Regions from separate parts of the Homo sapiens genome. Here all the other regions are linked to region 2. The links are contacts of gene promoters, found by promoter capture Hi-C in blood cells and fetal thymus (Javierre and others, 2016). All regions are on one chromosome and are shown on one strand. Each heading gives the region's core, a stretch centred on a gene start or on the middle of the fragment in contact. The rest is flanking DNA. Distances are from core to core; before and after follow the strand shown. Region 1 overlaps SLC30A5 (solute carrier family 30 member 5). Region 2 holds the start of OCLN (occludin). Region 3 holds the start of LOC107984116 (a long non-coding RNA gene). Region 4 overlaps LINC02198 (long intergenic non-protein coding RNA 2198). Region 5 overlaps SLC30A5 (solute carrier family 30 member 5). Region 6 has its middle 20 kb from the start of SLC30A5. Region 7 has its middle 17 kb from the start of LINC02198.

Evidence for each region. Contacts are between HindIII fragments. The CHiCAGO score rates a contact against its expected background, and 5 or more counts as called.
Region 1: a fragment that was not itself captured here is called in contact with the fragment with the promoter of OCLN in region 2 in 5 of 17 cell types (erythroblasts, neutrophils, total CD4 T cells and 2 more); the score reaches 5.8 in erythroblasts.
Region 3: a fragment that was not itself captured here is called in contact with the fragment with the promoter of OCLN in region 2 in 4 of 17 cell types (total CD8 T cells, naive CD8 T cells, neutrophils and 1 more); the score reaches 7.4 in total CD8 T cells.
Region 4: a contact is called between a fragment that was not itself captured here and the fragment with the promoter of OCLN in region 2, in 6 of 17 cell types (erythroblasts, total CD8 T cells, monocytes and 3 more). The highest score is 9.9, in erythroblasts.
Region 5: a fragment that was not itself captured here is called in contact with the fragment with the promoter of OCLN in region 2 in 1 of 17 cell types (monocytes); the score reaches 5.7 in monocytes.
Region 6: a fragment that was not itself captured here is called in contact with the fragment with the promoter of OCLN in region 2 in 9 of 17 cell types (total CD4 T cells, neutrophils, M2 macrophages and 6 more); the score reaches 7.6 in total CD4 T cells.
Region 7: a fragment that was not itself captured here is called in contact with the fragment with the promoter of OCLN in region 2 in 2 of 17 cell types (erythroblasts and M2 macrophages); the score reaches 7.8 in erythroblasts.

What each region holds. Positions count from the first base shown.
Region 1 is chr5:69,130,879-69,133,918 of GRCh38, forward strand. SLC30A5 (solute carrier family 30 member 5) reads left to right here. Exons shown (of 16, transcript NM_022902.5): 16 at 1-191. Among named protein-coding and RNA genes, the nearest start is that of SNORA50D, 28 kb to the right of the region's middle. The HindIII fragment of the contact is 4,208 bases long and covers 1-3,040 here.
Region 2 is chr5:69,491,006-69,494,056 of GRCh38, forward strand. It overlaps OCLN (occludin), which reads left to right and starts at 1,785. Exons shown (of 9, transcript NM_001205254.2): 1 at 1,785-1,895. The HindIII fragment of the contact is 10,406 bases long and covers 1-2,135 here.
Region 3 is chr5:69,005,444-69,008,276 of GRCh38, forward strand. All of the region lies in intron 1 of LINC02198 (long intergenic non-protein coding RNA 2198), which reads right to left. It overlaps LOC107984116 (a long non-coding RNA gene), which reads right to left and starts at 1,742. Exons shown (of 3, transcript XR_001742709.2): 1 at 1,584-1,742. The HindIII fragment of the contact is 3,932 bases long and covers 1-2,833 here.
Region 4 is chr5:69,026,685-69,029,523 of GRCh38, forward strand. The region is part of intron 1 of LINC02198 (long intergenic non-protein coding RNA 2198); the gene reads right to left. Among named protein-coding and RNA genes, the nearest start is that of LINC02198, 1.8 kb to the right of the region's middle. The HindIII fragment of the contact is 656 bases long and covers 1,072-1,727 here.
Region 5 is chr5:69,103,102-69,105,908 of GRCh38, forward strand. SLC30A5 (solute carrier family 30 member 5) reads left to right here. Exons shown (of 16, transcript NM_022902.5): 3 at 1-27; 4 at 1,530-1,615. Among named protein-coding and RNA genes, the nearest start is that of SLC30A5, 10 kb to the left of the region's middle. The HindIII fragment of the contact is 4,406 bases long and covers 1-2,807 here.
Region 6 is chr5:69,073,084-69,075,807 of GRCh38, forward strand. It overlaps the pseudogene LOC100130639. Among named protein-coding and RNA genes, the nearest start is that of SLC30A5, 20 kb to the right of the region's middle. RefSeq lists a silencer at 1,965-2,133. The HindIII fragment of the contact is 6,468 bases long and covers 1-2,724 here.
Region 7 is chr5:69,045,253-69,048,171 of GRCh38, forward strand. No RefSeq gene overlaps it. Among named protein-coding and RNA genes, the nearest start is that of LINC02198, 17 kb to the left of the region's middle. RefSeq lists an enhancer at 1,238-1,382 and a cis regulatory region at 1,305-1,315. The HindIII fragment of the contact is 1,941 bases long and covers 610-2,550 here.

The DNA.
Region 1 (3,040 bases), core at 406-2,905, 360 kb before region 2:
AGTATGAGTACTATTTTCTTATATATACCACAATGGCAAACATGTATTATAAATCATATTTTTGTCTTACCAATTTTAATATATGAGGGGTTTTAGAAATTTGTTGTAAGTTATTTTTATATTCCTTGTCTTTTGCATATTTTTTGGCCAAAATCTTCAATACATATTAAAATTTTTGAGTGGTGGGAAAATAATTGCATATTGATGTTTTAATGCAATTTTTATACATTAAAAAATTAAGTAGATAGGTGCAATAAATATTACACCAAAGTTAAAATTGTCATTTCCCTTAGAAGACATATAAACAGCAAAAAAATTAATGTGATTGTGAGATATTAGAGTGAGAGAGAGCAGGGGCTGAAGGTTGGGGAGGTACAATTATAAAGTATGGAAACTCTAATATTGAAAGCACCAGGGTACTGTATTTCAGCTCATGCAAATCATGCAACTAGGCCAGGTGCAGTGTCTCTTGCCTGAAATCCTGGCACTTTGGGAGGCTAAAGCAAAAGGATAGCTTGAGCCCAGGAGTTTGAGAACAGCCTGAGCAACATAGCAAGATTCCATCTCTACAAAAATTTTTAAAAATTAGCTGGGGCATGGTGGCACATACCTCTTGGGAGGCTGAGGCAGGAGGATTGCTTGAACCTAGGAGGCCAAGGCTGCAGTGAGCCATGATGGCACCACTGCTCTCCAGCCTGGGTGACACAGAAAGATTTTATCTCAAAAAAAAAAAAAAAATTCATGCAACTTTAGGCAAATCAGCCTTTCTGAGGTATCTTTTTTTTTTCCTCATATATAAACTATATAAAACCTGCTCAAATTTACAGCACAGGATATGGGAACAAAAGGTATAATGTATGTGAAAATGCAGTGGAAGTTGAAAAAGGCTAAATAGGCCGGGTGCGGTGGCTCACGCCTGTAATCCCAGCACTTTGGGAGGCCGAGGTGGGCGGATCACGAGGTCAGGAGATCGAGACCATCCTGGCTAACATGGTGAAACCCTGTCTCTACTAAAAATGCAAAAAATTAGCCAGATGTGGTGGCAGGCGCCTGTAGTCCCAGCTACTCGGCAGGCTAAGGCAGGAGAATGGCGTTAACCTGGGAGGCGGAGCTGGCAGGCAGCCGAGATAGCACCACTGCACTCTAGCCTGGGTGACAGAGCAAGACTCCATCTCAAAAACAAAAAAGAAAAAGGCTAAATACGAAGAATTGTTACTTTTTAAGCCTGACTTCAAAGGTAGCCGTCATTAACTTGTCTCTTTTTTTCTATAAATTAGCATCTCAAGAGATTAATTAGATGTTTAACATATAAATAAGTTAAAAATAATGCCCAAAATAGAAGCCTGTTTTGAGGGAGGGGAGTTTGGATTTTTTTTTCAGAGACAAGGTCTCACTCTGTTGCCCAGGCTGGAGTGCAATGACATGATCATTGCTCACTGCAGCCTTGAACTCCTGAGCTCAAGCAATCCTCCCACCTCAGCCTCTCCAGTAGGTAGGACTGCAGGTGCACATTACCATGCCCAGCTAATTTATTGTTTGTAGAGACAGGGTCTCACCATGTTGCCCATGCAAGTCTCGGAACTCCTGGGCTCAAGTGATCCTCCCACCTCTTCTTCCCAAAGTATGAGGATTATAGCCATCCTGGCTAACACGGTGAAACCCCATCTCTACTAAAAATACAAAAAATTAGCGGGGCGTGGTGGCGGGCGCCTGTAGTCCCAGCTCCTCGGGAGGCTGAGGCAGGAGAATGGTGTGAACCCGGGAGGCGGAGGTTGCAGTGAGCCGAGATCGTGCCACTGCACTCCAGCCTGGGTGACAGAGTGAGACTCCGTCTCAAAAAAAAAAAAAAAAGAAAGAAAATAATACAATCATTTATGGCTTTTTGTGTTTTATTTATGTTTTTATTTATTAGTTTTTAGAGTCTCGCTCTGTCGCCAGGCTTGAGTGCAGTGGTGCAATCTGGCTCACTGTAACCTCCACCTCCTGGGTTCAAACGATTCTCCTGCCTCAGCCTCCTGAGTAGCTGGGACTACAGGTGCACGCCACTACGCCCAGCTAATTTTTGTATTTTTTTTTTAGTAGAGACAGAGTTTCACCATGTTGGCCAGGATGGTCTCGACCTCGACCTTGTGATCCATCCGCCCACCTCGGCCTCCCAAAGTGTGGGATTACAGGCATCAGCCACCGTGCCCGGCCTGTGTTTTATTTTTAATTATAATTCTTTTCTTCTGTTATAGCAATTTATGGCGTTTTAAACATTCAGTAAATTAACTCATAACAAATACTGAAGGCCTTTATACTAAATACACTGCACTAGGAGCTAGGGATAAAGTCCTCAGTAATACAAAGTCCTGCCCTAATGGAGCTTACTTCTAATGTAGAAGACAAGACCAGTATGTAATAAAATGTAGTAAGTGCTGTGAAGAAAAGCAATAACTTACTGAACTTTTGCCATGTTCCAGATGGACACTGTTCTAAACAATAAATATGTGTAATTATTATTTCCATTTTACTGATGCAGAAACTGAGGCAGGAAAAGGTTAATTAACCTGCCCCAAATCATACACGTTATAAGTGGGAAAGCCAATTTTCTCAACTAGGCACTCTGGATTCAGGGTTGAGACTCAACTAAAGCAGCGTTCAAGGACAGAGTTATAGAGGTGCCAGAGAGTGGTTGAAGAGGATTTCTATGGAAGAAGACTTCAGCACTGCATTGAAGTCAGGAGGCAAACAATCTCCAGGATTCTAAACCATCTTCTACTAACAGCTACTATTCTAGACTGAGAGAACATCAAATGAAATGCAAGGACATTTGAGACAGGAGGTGCTTAGCATGATTAAAAAAAAAAGAAGCAAGAGGCCGGTGATCGCAGCAAACTTAGACAGACAGCATGTTGAGAACTTGGAAAGTCTGTGGATGGCTCCAAATAAGGTACTGACTTGAGCCAATGTGTTTCAAAAGAATCAGGGTAGGAGAGCAAGAGTGGAATCTAGGGGACAGTTGGAAGGCTTTTGCTGAAGCTGAAATGAGAGAGGATGG
Region 2 (3,051 bases), core at 535-3,034:
ACTAAAACCCACTGAATTGTACGTGCCCTTTAAAAGGGTGAATTTTATGGTATGTGAACTCTCTTTTATAAAGTGGAAAAAAACTCCTAAGATCTCTTCAGAACATGTCAAAATACATTATAAAATAATAGACATGTGTTTACAAATCTGAGAGTATTAGGAAATGTTCCCTTGTTTAATTATAAACCAAATGGAATGTTTGGAGATTTCAGTAATCTGACAGGGAACATTAAGGGGATTAACCTGACTTCCCCAGTGTTAACAATACCAATTTAAACTGCATCATTCAAAAACTACATAGTCATATTAAAGCATTTGTAGCAATGACTTCCACGAAAAAAATACCAATTAAATTAATTACCCATTAAAGCTGCCATCATCTGAAATACCTCATATTTATATAGTGCTTTTACTTCCTCAAGTATGAATTGTGCCTTAAGATCTAATGTATGGGAGAGTCACATCTCTAACCATTTAATTAAAGGTAGAGAAGTGGGTGGGATTGGATAGAAATTTATTAGCAATGCTGACATTCCAGATTGGAACACAAAGACAAGCAGGATGTAAGAAACCTAAAAGTTCGCTTTCAATGCAGATAGTTAAATGCCAAGAACTATAATTGCCACATCCTGGAGTACAATTAAAAAATATGTTGAAAAACAACCAACATACATAAAAATATACACAGTGTTAAGTGCAGACTATGAAATTTCCCTTGGAAACAGAATCCAGATCAAGAAATAGAATACAGCACCCGGAACTAAGGTGCTTTTTCGTTTTCTTAAAAAAAAAAAAAAAGTAAACCAAGTTTATTTTGCTTTTTAAGTAGTGTTGTTCTTAAAGCACTACAGGTTGGTAAACAACGTATAAGGTGCTTTTTCTCAGGCCAAAGAGCCATAATAGTTTAAATTTCCCGGTCCTCAAGAGCGGACCGGGTGGGCAGGAGAGGACCCTGGGGTGGTGATGTGTAAACTGTATTATGCACTTTAGCCTGCTGGATGGCAACTAACACCTACAGTAGTTCACCCTCATTTTAACCCCTCTAAGTAATTGTCTCTTATTCTGAATCTAGAGATTCAGAAACAGCGCCAATGTTTACACACGACTTTTGAAATTTTCCCAGGAGTCTTTCGTTGGAGCAATACATCTAGATGCCTTTTTCCAGCAACAGTTTAATCAAATTCTGGAAGCAGAAAAGTGTCCTGTGAGGACGTGCCTTTCCTATCAAAGTGCTGAGTGCCTGGACCCTCTTTCCGGAGGAAACAGTCCCCTCTGGACCTCGTTCGGCCTCTCTCCATCAGACACCCCAAGGTTCCATCCGAAGCAGGCGGAGCACCGAACGCACCCCGGGGTGGTCAGGGACCCCCATCCGTGCTGCCCCCTAGGAGCCCGCGCCTCTCCTCTGCGCCCCGCCTCTCGGGCCGCAACGTCGCGCGGTTCCTTTAACAGCGCGCTGGCAGGGTGTGGGAAGCAGGACCGCGTCCTCCCGCCCCCTCCCATCCGAGTTTCAGGTGAATTGGTCACCGAGGGAGGAGGCCGACACACCACACCTACACTCCCGCGTCCACCTCTCCCTCCCTGCTTCCTCTGGCGGAGGCGGCAGGAACCGAGAGCCAGGTCCAGAGCGCCGAGGAGCCGGTCTAGGACGCAGCAGGTGGGACTCGCGGCGCTGGCCCGCAGGCTTCCCGCACCCCCTTCCACGTTGGTGCGCATGCCCGGGGGCAGGGCCGGTTGTAGGGAGGAGGGAAAGGAGAGGGAGAAGGGGGAGGAGACGTCCCCAGCCCAGTCCCCGGCTGAGCGCTGGCGGTCGGTGCGGCGTCAGGTGCGCCCGCCAGGTGAGCGCGCTCCCTGGCACCGTTGGCCCCCGGAGGGTCGGGCCCAGTTGCGGCGAGCGGGTGAGTGTTGGGCGCGGCGTCAGGGGCGCACGGGAGCCCGAGGGTCCCCGTGGGGGGACCGCGGCGACTATGTTAGGGGAGGTGCCGGGGGGAGGACGCTCCGCGCTGGTTTCGGTGGCAGTTTCGTCCCCGAGCTGGGACTCGTGGGAACCAGAGAGGCGCGGGTCTGCGGAGAGAGCAGCACCGGCCAACTTGGGAGGCTGCCTCCTGGGGCGAGGGGTGGCTTGGAGCCGCCGATCAAGCTTTATTCCGCGGAAACGCTGAAAGCTAGCAGTGCCTCAGCGGCGCGGGCAACTTTTCACTTTTATGGGGCACGACATTCCTGAACAGCGACGATCCTGCATCCGCTCTGGGGCTGCAGTTTGGGGGGGCGGCCTTCATGGAGAGGGATCCTGCGCCCAGCTCCTTGGGGGTCCTAAGCCTGAGGCTGCAGCGAGGCGGCTGTTCGGCGGCCCGGGCGGCTTAGATCCCGGGGGGAATTTCATTCCTTCCGCTCCCACCCCACCCCTTTGGATATCCCGGGGAGACGGGGGCTGGATTCAATCTGTGAAATATTCCAGGAGTCACGGTGTGGGCCACACTGGCTACTTCGAATCCACTTGTTGCGAGTTGTGTGAACCCGCGTCGATTTAAGCTGGGGGGCGGGGAGTTAATTTCGAGTGAGGCTGGACTTCGAGGGAAGCTGCTCACGCTTCGGATTCTCATCCGTGACCAAAAGGGCTGCCCCCAGGGGGGCGGAACTGCCTCCGGGCGGTGCCTGCCCGGCGAACGTGGGCGCGCGCTGCCTGGGAGCGCCTCGGTGCGCACGGAAGCCGGGACCCGCGCCCAGCCGGGCCACGGAGTTTGGGGACCTCCGGGACTGGGCCGGCCCCGCGCGCCAGCCATGTTGCCTGCGTCGGAGGAAGCGTGCGGGGAGCAGGGGTCGAGGGCCAAGATGGCCTCTGCGCCTAGGGGTTGGGAGCGGCGCCGAGCCCCTCGCGCTCCTCGGGAAGCCACCGGGCCCGAGGGAAAAGCCGCGGCATCCTTAGGCCGGACCCGGGGCTCGCTGGCCACACTGCCCGCTTGGGGAATTACCCTGCTCGAGGAGGAGGCGGCGGCTTTCCAGGCCAGTCAGTGTGTGGCCCTTAGGCAACAGGTGTATTATTGGGATACCTGG
Region 3 (2,833 bases), core at 64-2,563, 490 kb before region 2:
AAAATTCAATCTTTCCTGAATTACCTTAGATTATTGATAGAACAATCTCATGCCAGGCAGACACAGCTACTAGGAGAAGGGGCCAGGTTCAAGTTAAGACAACAGAAGAATTTTCCAGCACCTCCTTTCCAGCCAGAGATAAGTCTCCATTGGCCAGTACTGCCAGACAGAACTCCAGAGATCATGGCCAGGGATCCTGGAGTTTCTCAGCTCACACAGGACCACCATTTCTCAGGGTGTCATTTGACCAGCCCCAACCACTCCAGTACTCTGCCCATGTCCACCAATGCCATGTCCACCACCTCATGGGTGTCACATGTGGTTATTCCTGGAGGTAGGTTAAGAACCAGACCCTCAGCCAGGTGTGGTAACTCACACCTGTAATCCCAGGACTTTGGGAGGCTGAGGCAGGCAGATCACTTGAGGTGAGGAGTTCGAAGTAAGTCAGCCTGGCCAACATGGTGAAACCCCATCTGTACTAAAAATACAAAAAATTAGCCAGGCATGGTGGCTTGAGCCTGTAATCTCGGTACTTGGGAGGCTGAGGCAAGAGGATAGCTTGAACCCAGGAGGCGGAGTTTGCCATGAGCCAAGATCAAGCCACTGCACTCCAGCATGGGTGACAGAGAAAAACTCTGTCTCAAAAAAAAAAAAAAAAAAAAAAAAAGAACCAGACCCTCTACTCCAGCCCTTGCCCTTTCAGGCTGGGATGAGGGAAGGAGGGCTAAGTCTTGGAAGGAGAGATTCCTGGATTAACTTCCTCAGCCCACAACGACTGGCAGTTGCCACCCACTCCAGCCATGTGCCTGTTCTCACCCACCCACAGGGTTGCCAAGGCCTGAGGGAGGTGGCACTGGCAGAAACCATAATTAGGGATTTCATCATATACTTTAGCTAGAATTGAGAACAAATTCTTCCTTACAACATGCAAATCTATTGTTCGACTTTCAAACATCCAACTAACTTTCAAACACATTTTTGGGAACCCATTAGATACGTAAGGAAGACACTACCTCTTCTGAACTGTAGACATGGCCTTGAAATTCAGACAAGAGCATGTCCAGGGTTGACACAATAATGGAAGATTCAAAAAACACGTGATGAAAGAGAACATGGAGGTCAGCAAACATGGTCCAGCAAGGTCCAGGTTGCACCAAGGCAAGCACAGACCCAGAAGCTATGAGGGAAGGAAAGGGGGAAGTACAAAGAGGGTCTTCATCCCTCCTGTGTCCCTGGCTTCAAAGGAGTGAATTCCCATTCAATTTCATAAAAGACTTTTCACCATTTCCTATATAGACAAATTAAAGCAGCAAGTTGACCATCTGAATAATCTATTGTTATAGATCAATGTCTGGATATTACTGGGGGAGAGAGGTGTTTGAGCTTTGAGCTTTTTCTCAAAGGCTAAAGGGACAAATTTTAGGATTTTCCCAAATTATCTCAATAATTTTTTCAACCCTTCACTTCAGACAAAATATTTAAGGAAATGCTATTTCCATAGTATTCTTGGGTCATACCTATAGAGCCACAGCCAAGGGAGGGGCACAGGAGGGAAGAAGGAGGGGTAGAGTCACCCAGATTACCTGTCTGGTTGCTTAGACTGGTCCAATTTCACTAAGAATCACACAAACCTCTTCATTCCTTCTGCTTTGTTCACCTGACCTTTTTCAATTTCTTTTTCCTTTCTCCATTACCCTAAGGGAGTAATCTAGCCACTCTGGCTTTCTTTGCATGCAAAATGTAACAGTTCCTTCTTTCGTCTTTCAGATAAAGGCAGTCTTGGGGAGGGGAAGAGAAAAGTGCCTGGCTTCTCCAAATTAGCTCTGAAATAAAAGTCACTGCCAGATGTTATATAAAAGGTGACGTAATCCTAAAGTACTTCATTACATATGCAGCTCTGCTGTTCAGCCCAGGAGGAGTTTATTACATTTTGTCGATCCCATTTTCTATACCCACATCATTTTTACATAATTTTTCCTGCCTGACAGACATCTTCACATTTTCACAGCAACCCATCAAGATAGCGTTACAACAGCACAGGAAACCAGGCTAGCAGTTTACAAATAATGGTGTTAATAAGTCAGATTTGTCCCTGAGATACAAATCAGGAGTAAATGGTCTATCCATGTGTGTGAAAAGCACATCTATTTCAGAATAACAGGGAAGAAAGCAGAGCACCATTTCAACTGGCACCGTGTTCCTTCAGAACACGTACCAAACCTATTCGACAAGTAGGAAAATGGAGAAATGTCAATCTAAAGTTATTCTTGCAATTCTTTTCGTTTTCCTAATAAATTCTTGGCTCAGAGTGAAATAGATGACCATGGAAAATGCATTAAGATCAAACTTCCTGCCTTTTTGGATTGCACAAAATTTAGAAGAAAATACACCATTCGTACCAATGAAGTATCTAGCTACTGAGATGCTTTAAGTGCAAACACTGAGAGACACTTCCTCCCACTCGCCAGGTGCTAAGCATCCTTCCCTGTCTCCCTGGGCACTCATGGCCCCACTGCCCCCTGATGGTAAAAAGCAGCAGTGCAGGCTGGACCATTCTTCAAGGAGGATTGACAGACTGGAGTGGACGGTTCAAAGGCATTTGCCTTAAGGTCAGTGTGAGAGGCCAAAGACACTGAGCTCCTAGTTACTAGTCAGAAACAAACTTATGCGACTCAGAATTCCAGTGGGATAAGAAAATGCCTGTGACTCCCACCCCAAGGAATCATACATAGAAGGAAATTTCATCTTTAGAACCTCCTTCAGCCTTAAGGAAAGATCCCTGTAAAAATGAACTTTGTGTTTTTAAACAGTAATTATAAACTTAGAGTAATGG
Region 4 (2,839 bases), core at 150-2,649, 460 kb before region 2:
TGCTGAGGTGGCCTTCAGGAAGAGAGATCTATAAAGATGATCCCGGGTGGTGCAGTTATCCTTTGGCTCCCTCTCCAAGAGGCATCTGTCTTGATCAACATACGTTGTTTTTCAAGGTGGGTGATTTTTTCAGCCAGACTTGGATTTCCTTTGGATGTCTCAGTATGCTGAGAGTGGCGTATAGGACAGCTCTGTTTCACTCAAGTTATAATACATTGGGACTGGCTAAAAAAGATAAAGGAAAGGGAAACATTTCCCAGAGTGCTTTGCAGAACACTGGTACCCACTTAGAGATTTACAATGGATATTAACATTCCAGTCAAGGTTCTGGAAAAATGGTCAGCAAAAGAGCTTATATGTCTTTAATCAGCAGCTCCCAAATGTAATGTGCCACAGAGCTTTTTTCATGTAAGACATCTTGAGAACCCTGGCACAAAGGACAAAACAATAAGATTCAAAATTACTGCTTGGTGATATGAGGAGAGAGCACATTAGATATTATCAAAAGAAAATTATAGCATTCATATGTCTGCCTATGAAGAAACTGTTTTAACTTCAGCTTCAGTTAAAAGTTAACTGTTGGCCAGGCATGATGGTTCACGCCTATAATCCCAGCACTTTGGGAGGCCGAGGCGGGCGGATCACCTGAGGTCAGGAGTTCGAGACCAGCCTGACCAACATGGAGAAACCCTGTCTCTACTTAAAATACAAAATTAGCCAGGCATGGTGGCACATGCCTGTAATCCCAGCTACTTGGGAGGCTGAGGCAGGAGATTCACTTGAATCCGGGAGGCAGAGGTTGCAGTGAGCCGAGATCACACCATTGCACTCCAGCCTGGGCAACAAGAGTCAAACTCCATCTCAAAAAAAAAACAAAGTTAACTGTTTTAATGTTAACTTCAACCAAGAGGAACTCCTGTCATAAAAGAAATTGGATGGAGGAAAGGAAGTTGGCGGAGAGGGAGGAGGTGACGAGAAATCATCTGCCATGGCCACAAGAGAACGGGAGAGTGCAGCTCTTGCAGAAAAAGAGCTAAAGACACAAGTCTCCTGCTTGTTGGAGAGAAAAGAAGCTTTGCACAGGCAGGGCCAATGTATGCTACATTAGAGGGAAGCCTTCCATGAAATCAATAGAGGAAAACACAATACTTAAAGACTGCATAAGCAAAGATTAGAATTTATGAGTAAGGCCTTGGAAGCAAGAAAAGGCTGAGACAAGAACAAGACAATACCTACAGAAGGAAATCCAGACCAGGCCATAACTAGTCACACAAGTTAAATGCTCGTGTTCAGTTCCTCAGTGAAGTGATCCTGGAAAATAATATGAATAGCAAGGCTGACCTTAGAACTACTGTGTATCATTATAGTTTATTGTATATTGACTGCTGCAGGTGACTCTGTTAAATAACCTACATATTCTTCTCATAATAAAGTGCTTTTCTCAACCCCATAAAGTCCTGAGTTAAATAAACCTATTAGGTGAAAATGTGAATAGATCAAGCACTGTAAAAAAAAAAAAAAAAAAAAAAGTTGAAAATGTAATCAATGACATAATTTCTAAAGTGGCATCTGGCCTAAGAGAGTTGTATTCAATGAGTTCCACCAAACTTCAAGAAACAGGTGATGTTTGGGTGTTTTTCTATTTCCACAAGGCATCAAAAAAAATGCAGGTAATCTGAGGACCACCATTGGAGAACCACTGTCTTTGTAGAATGCCGCCTTAATGAAGCTTATTTTGATCTGGGTGTGTTTCAGCTATTAGAAAAGGAGGATTCGAACTCTAAACATGGAAGACAGGGCAGCAACACAGAAAGGAATTATATGAAGATCTCCTTATCAAAGCGGCCTGGCAAATAGGGCACAATGAGATGCAACAAAATTAGGCAGACCAGTCTTCCTAAAGATCCAGCTAAAACCAAAGAAGATAATTTGGAGTTGGGCCAGGGTAAGATCCAGAAACTAAGATTTCTCGGTTATTTATAGAGCAGTCATCATATTTGTAAGATGCCTATGAGATACATATATATGACAAAGGAAGGAGGTGGCTCAGGTCTGTCTATTAGGGATTCCTTCAGCAAAGTCTCAACTGGGATCAAGTCTTGTTCAAAGTAAAGCCTTCTTTCTAAATCCACCTACCTCTGTTAACTATTGTTTTCTTCTGTCTCTTCTCAACTATGCTCTTACTGAAACATCAGCTCCTGGGACATCCCTTGTCTTGTTTCCCAGTTTTGTTCCTACCTATGTTTTGCCAGGATTCAGAGGAGCTGGGTTCTAGGCTTGATTAAAATCTTTCTAATCGTGTCATCTTGTTAACATCTTGTTGGTCATCTGTTTACACCTCTTGAATATCAGATCTAGCCCAGATCTGATCCTTTCCCCCATACTCATATTAAAATGCACCCCCACCTTCGCCTGTAGAGGGCCATCCTTGCCCCACTCCACATATTTAGCTCAGGAGTTATTGTCTCCATCCTGGCTAATCAGAGTTAACCACATACTAGGAAAACAGAACTAAGAGATGTCAAGGGAATCTGGGCCCTGATGGTATCAATCGAACATCTCTTTCAAGGCACATTGAAAGCTCACTCTAGTCCTGAACTTTTCAATTCTGTGAGCCAAAACACAGAGACAGAGACAGACAGAGAGACAGATACCTTTTACTGTGTAATCCACTTTGAGTTTTCTGTCGCTTGTAATGCATCTTTCTTGGAAGCATGTTTTTCATCAATAAAACAAGGATAATACTTGCTACCAAGCTTCAGTAGGATGTAAGTATTTTGGAAAGTCTAAAGCCTATTCAAACATAAAGTATTATTCCTACTTCCTCTTTTATGCTCTT
Region 5 (2,807 bases), core at 183-2,682, 390 kb before region 2:
TCTGGGAAAACTATTACCAAACACCAGGTAAGATTTTTGCAGAATCTTTTATTCCTAGCAGCTTCTCGTTTAGTGGGCCAGGAGGCAATGCTTATTTTTTATAATGGGTACTTAATGAATGATTTAAGTATGCCACAGAACAATTTTAGAGTTAACTTGCTCTTGTCTTTTCAGAATGGAGACTTTAAATCATAAAGTACTAAGATCATGGAATGTTTTTAAAAAAAACAAGAGGGTAAAAAAAATTATAAAGCATTCATGTAATTGTTTTCTTCAGTACACACTTCTTATTCTGAAAGATTTACAAATTGGACATGAAAGCATGCCCAAGAGCCTAGTACAAATGTCACTGGAAAGCTGACAAAGCATAGGGGTTAAGAGTGTGATTTCTGGAGTCAGACAAAGTCATGTTCTGTCTGTCCTCCTTACTGACCCTTACTTTGGGCAAGTTACTTGATTTCTCTCTACCTTAATTTGCTCACTGTAAAATGGAGATAACAGTAACTTCCTAACAGAACTGTGAGGAAAAATGAATTAATACTTATGAAGTTCTTAGAATGATGCCTCATCATCATTGTGACAATGTGACACCCTCATGATCATTGTCACTGTTCTCTTTAGGCAGCTGTGATTCAAACTAGAAATGTCCTACATTTTGCATAATCATCTCACATCGTCACTTCTTTGGGCAGCAGTTATACCATAGTACATGTTTGCTTTATGCCATGACTTACAAACCTGCGTCATAATTTTTTTATTAGAAAGACGAATTTAAGTACTTCTGTTTCAGAGACCAAGAACATTTTTTAAAATATGATTAATAGTCTAAACCCCATTTTAACTTTTTTCTCTCCTTTCAGATAATTGGATCACTAAAAATTCCTGGTAGAAAAGAATTTAAAGACAAAAAGTTAAATGATCCTAGGAAACTAGTGGGAAACTGAGAAATCATAAAATTGTACTCTGAAGAAAAAGATTTCAAAATCTACCAGCAGACAAGAATATAGATAATGGAAAACAGAATACTGTCCTTTTTTTTTTTCTTTCTTTTTTTGAGAAAGAGTCTTGCTCCATCGCCCAGGCTGCAGTGCAGTGACACGATCTTGTCTCACTGCAACCTCTGCCTCCCGGGTTCAAGCGATTCTCCTGCCTCAGCCTCCTGAGTAGCTGGAATTACAGGCACCCACCACCACACCCAGCTCATTTTTGTATTTTTAGTAGAGACGGGGCTTCATTCACCACATTGGCCAGCCTGGTCTTGAACTCCTGACCTCAGGTGATCTGCCTGCCTCGGCCTCACAAAGTGCTAGGATTACAGGCATGAGCCACAGCACCCGGCCCAGAATAAGAATACTGTCTTGGAAATCTAGACTTAGTCAAGGGATCTTATGTTTTCTATTTACAAAATATGTAATGATTTCACCTTTAAAATATTTGTTATTATTATCTTTCTGTATTTTATTTAAAATTTGGATATATAGCAAAATATATGTGACTGAAATTTTTAATTTTTTTGTTTCCATTTATAGTGGATCAAAATATTTAAACATGCAGTTGCTGGGTGTATTATTTCACTCTTGTGGTTTTTTGGCCTCACTCTTTGTGGACCACTAAGGTAAATAAAAATGCATATTTTGAATGTGTGTTTGTATTTCTTCATTTTGAATATTATTTTTGTTCCACTGTGTTTTACGTCAAATATTTATCTGTACAAATGTGTCTAGCACTTTTATAGCATCAGAGAGAATTCAACAGATAGAACAAACCTGTTTAGTTTCTGGACTAGTTCTTTAGTGAATACCATTAATATATTTATTCATGATTTGTCATAGATATTTTACTAGTTAGAATTCCAAGTTTCAGAAAATTTTTAGCATAAACGGCTTTTTAATCATTTATTCATGATCCCTGTTAACAGCTTAGAAGCTATAATAAAAGGTCTGAAGTGGTAAATAAAATTAGCCAATAAGAAGGAGAACAAAAATCTCTAAAAGCACTCATTTTTTGCACAATTTTGCAAATACTCTCATAAATAAATGTCTCAGAAGTAGTATATCAATTATCAGATTAAATGCGTGGTGGATAAAGTAAACTACTCCCATTTCATATTTCCCTAGATCTATATAGATTAGTCTTTTTCTGCAAGTGGACTGGTTTAAGGAGGAAATGCTTAGGGACCATTGATAGGAATTGTATCATGCAGCTGTGTATGAGCATTCTTTTAACATTTCCCCATCTGTAAAGGATTTTACTTAGTGAATAAGTGTAAGAAAAAATGCCTTGCCGTGAGAATGAGAGGTAAGGAGTGAAATGAAGAATGTTCTTGGCCAGCACTGTGGCTCACGCCTGTAATGCTAGCACTTTGGGAGGCCAAGGGGTGGATCATTTGAAGTTACGAGTTGGAGACCACCCTAGCCAACATAGCAAAACCCCGCCTTTATTAAAAAATATACAAAAATTAGCCAGAAATCACTTGAACTCAGGAGGCGAAGGTTGCAGTGAGCCGAGATCACGCCACTGCACTGCAGGCTGGGCAACAGAGCGAGACTCCGTCTCAAAAAAAAAAAGAATGTTCTAAAGCAGAGAGATCCCCCACCCCCTGGCTATAGACCAGTATGGGTTCATAACTCATTAGGAACCAGGCCACAGAGCAGGAGGTGAGCCACGGGGGAGCAAGCATTACTGCGTGAGCTCTACCTCCTGTCAGATCAGCAATGGCATTAGATTCTCATGGGAGCAGGAACCCTGTTGTGAACTGTGCATGGGAGGGATATCTAGGTTGCATGCTCCTTATGAGAATCTAATGT
Region 6 (2,724 bases), core at 209-2,708, 420 kb before region 2:
ATCCCAGCACTTTGGCAGGCCGAGGCAGGTGGATCACCTGAGGTCAGAAGTTTGAGACCAGCCTGGCCAACATGGTGAAACCCAGTCTCTACTAAAAATACAAAAAATTAGCCAGGCATGGTGGCAGGCACCTGTAATCCCAGCTACTTGGGAGGCTGAGGCAGGAGAATTGCTTGAACCTGGGAGAAGGAGGTTGCAGTGAGCTGAGATCGTGCCATTGCACTCCAGCCTGGGCAACAAGAGTGAAACTCCATCTAAAAAAAAAAAAAAAAAAAGAAGGTGCTATGGTATCAATGATAATTTCCTGATTTTCATGGGCATTCTGTGATTACATAGAAGAGTATCCTTATTTTTATGAAACAGACACTAAAGTATTTAGGGGTGATTGGCATCATGTCTGTAACTTATTCTCAGATGGTTCTGGAAAAAGAAATAATCTTTATCTATACAGAGAGAAAAAGAATAATAAGGCAGATATGGTACGTTACTAACGATTAGGGAATCAGGTGGAGGGAACATAGGAGTTCTCTACAGTATTCTTGAAACTGCATTAAGGTTTTTAATTATGCCCACTTTAATAGCTGTAAAATATTTCTTATAACTCTATTTTATAAATCCCCGGCATCTATTTAATTCAAGATCAGAATACAATAAGAGCATGAAGGTAATGAGAAATAAGTCAGGCACAAAGAGAACTTATAAAGGTAAATAAGAGCTATTCACTAAATATACTAAGGCCTATGAATCTTAGGTTCAATTTTTTTTTCTTTTTTTTTTTTTTGAGATGGAGTCTTGCTCTGTTGCCCAGGCTGGAGTGCAGTGGTGAGATCTCAGCTCACTGCAACCTCTGCCTCTTGGGTTCAAGCGATTCTCCTGCCTCAGCCTCCTGGATAGCTGGGACTACAGGCACACGCCACCATGCCCAGCTAATTTTTGTATTTTTAGTAGAGACAGGGTTTCACCATATTGGCCAGGCTGGCCTCTTGGCCAGGCTGGTCTCGAACTCCTGTCCTCGTGATCCGCCTGCCTCAGCCTCCCAAAGTGCTGGGATTACAGGAGTGAGTCACCACGCCCAGCCCTTGGGTTCTATTTTTTAATTACATATGAAATTTTAGTATTAAAGAGCCAGAAGGAGCTTGAAAAGTCTAGTTCCTCAAGTCTTTTCGTCATACATGTTTACATTAGGATGAAGAATAGAAAGGGGCTGAGTACTGTGAGAAGCCAGGAAATGAGGTCCCATGAAGAGAGACATGTTTTCCAAGGAAAAGGACAAGGGAAGTCCACTCACCATGGAAGAAAGTGCCACAGGGCATGCTAGAAAGGCCAAGGACAGCAGAGGGATGGATGGAGGTGGGGGATACAGGTTGCTGCCAGGCAGTGGATGTGAGATGGGCCCCACCCTATTTTGCACCTCAGGCCTGCCAAGCCGGGATCCTTCTGCCCAGCCAGGCTCTGGGCAAGGAAGAGGGGTTCTGGGAGGAAGTCCCAAACTCGAAGGGTGAAGGAAGATGGCAGTGCCGAGGCTTTGGGAAGGGAGCCAGAGGCAGGAATTGGAATTGGGGCCTGGTTTCCCCATGGCAGATTTCATCCAGGTCCAGGATCTGCCCTCTCTTGGCATTGACTGGCCAAGCCATGGCTCAGGTATTCCACACCTGGGCCCGGAACCACATGCCAGAAAACCCAACACTGTTCGGCCCCAGCCGGCAACTTCCAGCAGCCAGGAGCAAACAGGACTTGTGAAGGAGGCAGTGGATCTCCAGAGCCCAGCAGCAGGGAGGCTACTTTCCGGGAGAGGGCAGCAGCACAGGAGAAGGCCCTGCCGCCTACAGGGGTCCTACTCCACTCCGGGACCCTGCCCATCTGTGGCCATCCTCCCACCAGCAGCCTGTCACCTCCCATCCCTCCCGCTGGTGACAGGCACCGGGGTACCGTGCCCAGCCCCCGGGCACCTCCACAGGGCTGCCATGTGGCAGAGGAAGCCGGTGAACTGACGCTTGGCTGCAGCCAGGCAGGCCTAAGCTCTGTTGCCCCGCCGCATCCCAGCTACACCCACAGGCCTGGATGCCAACCAGCTGGCGTCAGTGCCCGCGGTGCCTTCCAGCACCCGCCTGTCCTGGAGGAGCTGCACCTGTCCCCTAATATCTTCACCCGCCTCTTAGGGGCAGCCTTCTCGGCCCTGGCGTGCATGGTGCACCACCTCCACCTCTCTGAAAAGCTGGCCTGGGTGCCCGTGGAGGCCTTCGTGGGGCTGCAGATCCAAGTGAACCAATCCGCCAACCCGTGAAACTGGGACTGTGCCCTCCAGGGAGTGCTCAGGCTGGTGAGGCTGGCGCCGGGCACCAGGACAGGCATCGTGTGTGACCCCAGAACCCGACCAGACCTCGGTGGGGCAGGAGCTCCTGCCGCTGGCAGGGGAGGAAGAGCTGTGTGGGTCGGGGCAGGGCCCAGAGGAGCACCAAGGTGGCCCCTGCCGTTGAGGGGTGGCTGACCTGGTGCATTATGTATGGTAGAACCGAGATGAAACCTGGCGCACCCTCAAGCGGCCCCTGTTGCCAGTGCACCCAGAGGATGACTCCACCCTCAGCACAGTGGTCTAAGGGTGCTCCTGGGGCCACACCACACACTCCTCCTCCTACGCCCTCTCCCTTCCTCTGACCCCCCGCCTTCTCCCTTCCTCTGACCCCCTCGGCTTCCTGTGCAGCCTCACCCCAGCCCCCTAAATAC
Region 7 (2,919 bases), core at 330-2,829, 450 kb before region 2:
GGTATCAGAGTTTTTAAGGACAACTTAGTGAGTTGCGGGAAGCCAGTGAGCCAGGAGTGCTGATTGGTTAGGTAGGAGATGAAATCATAGGGAACTGAAGCTGTCCTCTTGCGCTGAGTCAGTTCCTGGGTGGGGGCCACAAGATCAGATGAGCCAGTTTATCGATCTCGGTGGTTCCAGCTGATCCATCAAGTGCGGGTCTGCAAAATGTCTCAAGCACTGATCTTAGGATCAGTTGAGGGAGGATCAGAATCTTGTAGCCTCCAGCTGCATGACTCCAAAACCATAATTTCTAATCTTGTGGCTAATTTCTTAGTCCTACAGAGGCAGTCTAGTCCCCACACAAGAAAGAGTTTTGTTTTGGGAAAGGGCTATTATTGTCTTTGTTTTAAACTATAAGTTCCTCCCAAAGTTAGTTCGGCCTATGCCCAGGAGGGAGAAAGGACAGCTTAAAGGTTAGAACCAAGATAGAGCCAGTTAGATCTCTTTCACTGTCTGTCATAATTTTGCAAAGGCAGTTTCAACCCTAAGGATGAGGCACACCAGTGTCTCTGTAACTCAAGCATCTTAAACATAGATGTGGTTTGCCTCCCACCAGGACAAAGGAGAAGCTTTCTAAAGCTGATGAAAGAGCTGCTCAAGAGAGCATACAAGCGCAGTGGCTCATGCCTGTAATCCCAGCACTTTGGGAGGCCGAGGTGAGCAGATCACTTGAGGTCAGGAGTTTGAGACCAGCCTGGCCAACATGGTAAAACCCCGTCTCTACTAAAAATACAAAATTAGTCAGGCCTAGTGGCACATGCCTGCAATCCCAGGGAGGCCTAAGGCAGGAGAATCACTTGAACCCAGGAGACAGAGGTTGCTTGACCCGGGAGACAGAGGTTTCGGTGAGCCAAGATCATGCCACACTGCACTCCAGCCTGGGCAACAAGAGTGAAACTCTATCTCAAAAAAAAAAAAAAAAAATGCATACAAGTTTTTGGTTTCTAAAGCAAAATAATAATAATCAACTTGAGCCTATACTTGCTTCAAGAAAATTTTCAGTCAGATTTAAAACAAATAACAATCACAAAAAAAAAAAAAACCTGACTAGGCTTCTATGAGATTATACCACCTAAAGTATGCCCTAGCTCAGGCTGCCATAGCAAAATATCATAGGCTGAAGAGAAACAATGGAAATCTATTCTCTCGCAGTTCTGGACGCCGTTCCCAGAACTGGAAGGTGCAATGCTGCCGTAGCAACAAATAAACCCAGGTCACCATGCTGACTCTTCAGCTGCTGTGTTCATTGACCCACCATCATGGTGACTCAGCAACTTTCTTTCTCTGCTCCTCCAGCTCCACTGCTACCAACCTCTTTAATATCAACTTTGAGTATCTTTTCTCTACCTCACAACTAACATAACTTCTGCTAGTCCGTGGCTTTTACAGCCTCTTGCATTTGTGTACTGCATCTCTGGAGAGCCCAGATCTGCTTCCGTTATCAATTGTCTGCCTCTTGTCCTTTATTGATCACCAGTACAAATTCTTGAGAGAGAAAACCTGATTGAGTTAGCAAGTAACTATAGGCTTCCTCACAGGCCTCCAGCCCAGTGGGTCTCAAATGTGAGCATGGAATCACCTGGAAGGCTTCTTAAAACACAGATTGCCAACGGGAGTGGTGGCTCACGCCTGTAATTCCAGCACTTTGGGAGGCCAAGGCAGGCAGATCACTTGAGGTCTCGAGACCAGCCTGACCAAGATGGTGAAATCCCATCTTTACTAAAAATACAAAAATTAGCCAGGCATGGTGGTGCGCACCTATAATCCCAGCTACTCAGGAGGCTGATCAGGAGAATCGCTTGAACCTGGGAGGCACAGGTTGCAGTGGGCCGAGATTGCACCATGGCAGCACTCCAGCCTGGATGACAGAGTGATTCTCTGTCTCAAAAAAAAAAGAAAGAAAGAAAGAAAAAACACACAGATTGCTATGCACTACCCTCAGAAGTTCTAATTCGGCAGATCTCCAGCAGAGTCCGATCACCCATATTGCTATACATTTCCAGGTGATGCTGATGTTTCTGATCTTGAGACCACACTTTGAAAACCACTGCTCTAGCCTGTAGGTGAACGGTCCTTGGGTAAGATGTCCATCAGCTGTAGGCCGGGGAATATGTGATGTGGTTGTGGATGTGGCCACCTATGGATAAGGATAATAAGACTTCCAGGGGATTCTATGCTCACATTTGAGAACCACTGGGCTGGAGGCCTGTGAGGAAGCCTATAGTTACTTGCTAACTCAATCAGGTTTTCTCTGTCAAGAATTTGCACTGGTGATCAATAAAAGACAAGAGGCAGGAATTGGTAATGGAAGCAGAGCTGGGCTCTCCAGAGATACAGTCAACAAATGCAAGAGGCTGTAGAAGTGTCCATTTCCCTCAACAAAAGGCTCTGGACATAAACATTTTAATATGGCCTGTGGACAGGCAAGCTGTTGTCTGACATTTTCCCTGTTCTGTCTTTTACTATGAGACGTCCACCAGGCTTTCACTGAGTGCCTACTACATGCCAAGCTTTCATTGTGCTAAGCATTGGAGATATAAAACTCAGCCATTTTAACTTGTAATCACGGAGGACTTAGCTAGATAAATTTTAATGACTTGTAAAAATTAAGATAAATGTTTTGGTTCCCTTTTAAATAGAAAGACATATCAAAAGATAACTACAGAAATTCTCAAAAGTTTCCACTCAAATCGAGTTGTGATAAAAACAGAAGTGTGAGGGGTGCATAAGTAAGAAAAGCACATTCAAAAAAATAATTCAGTTAAAAGAATTAGTTATGAACTACTCAGAATGTTTAACACAGAGCAAACCAACATATATTATGTTGAAAATAAACTAGCCTCGGTGCTCTCAAAATCCAGATTCATGCAAAGAAGT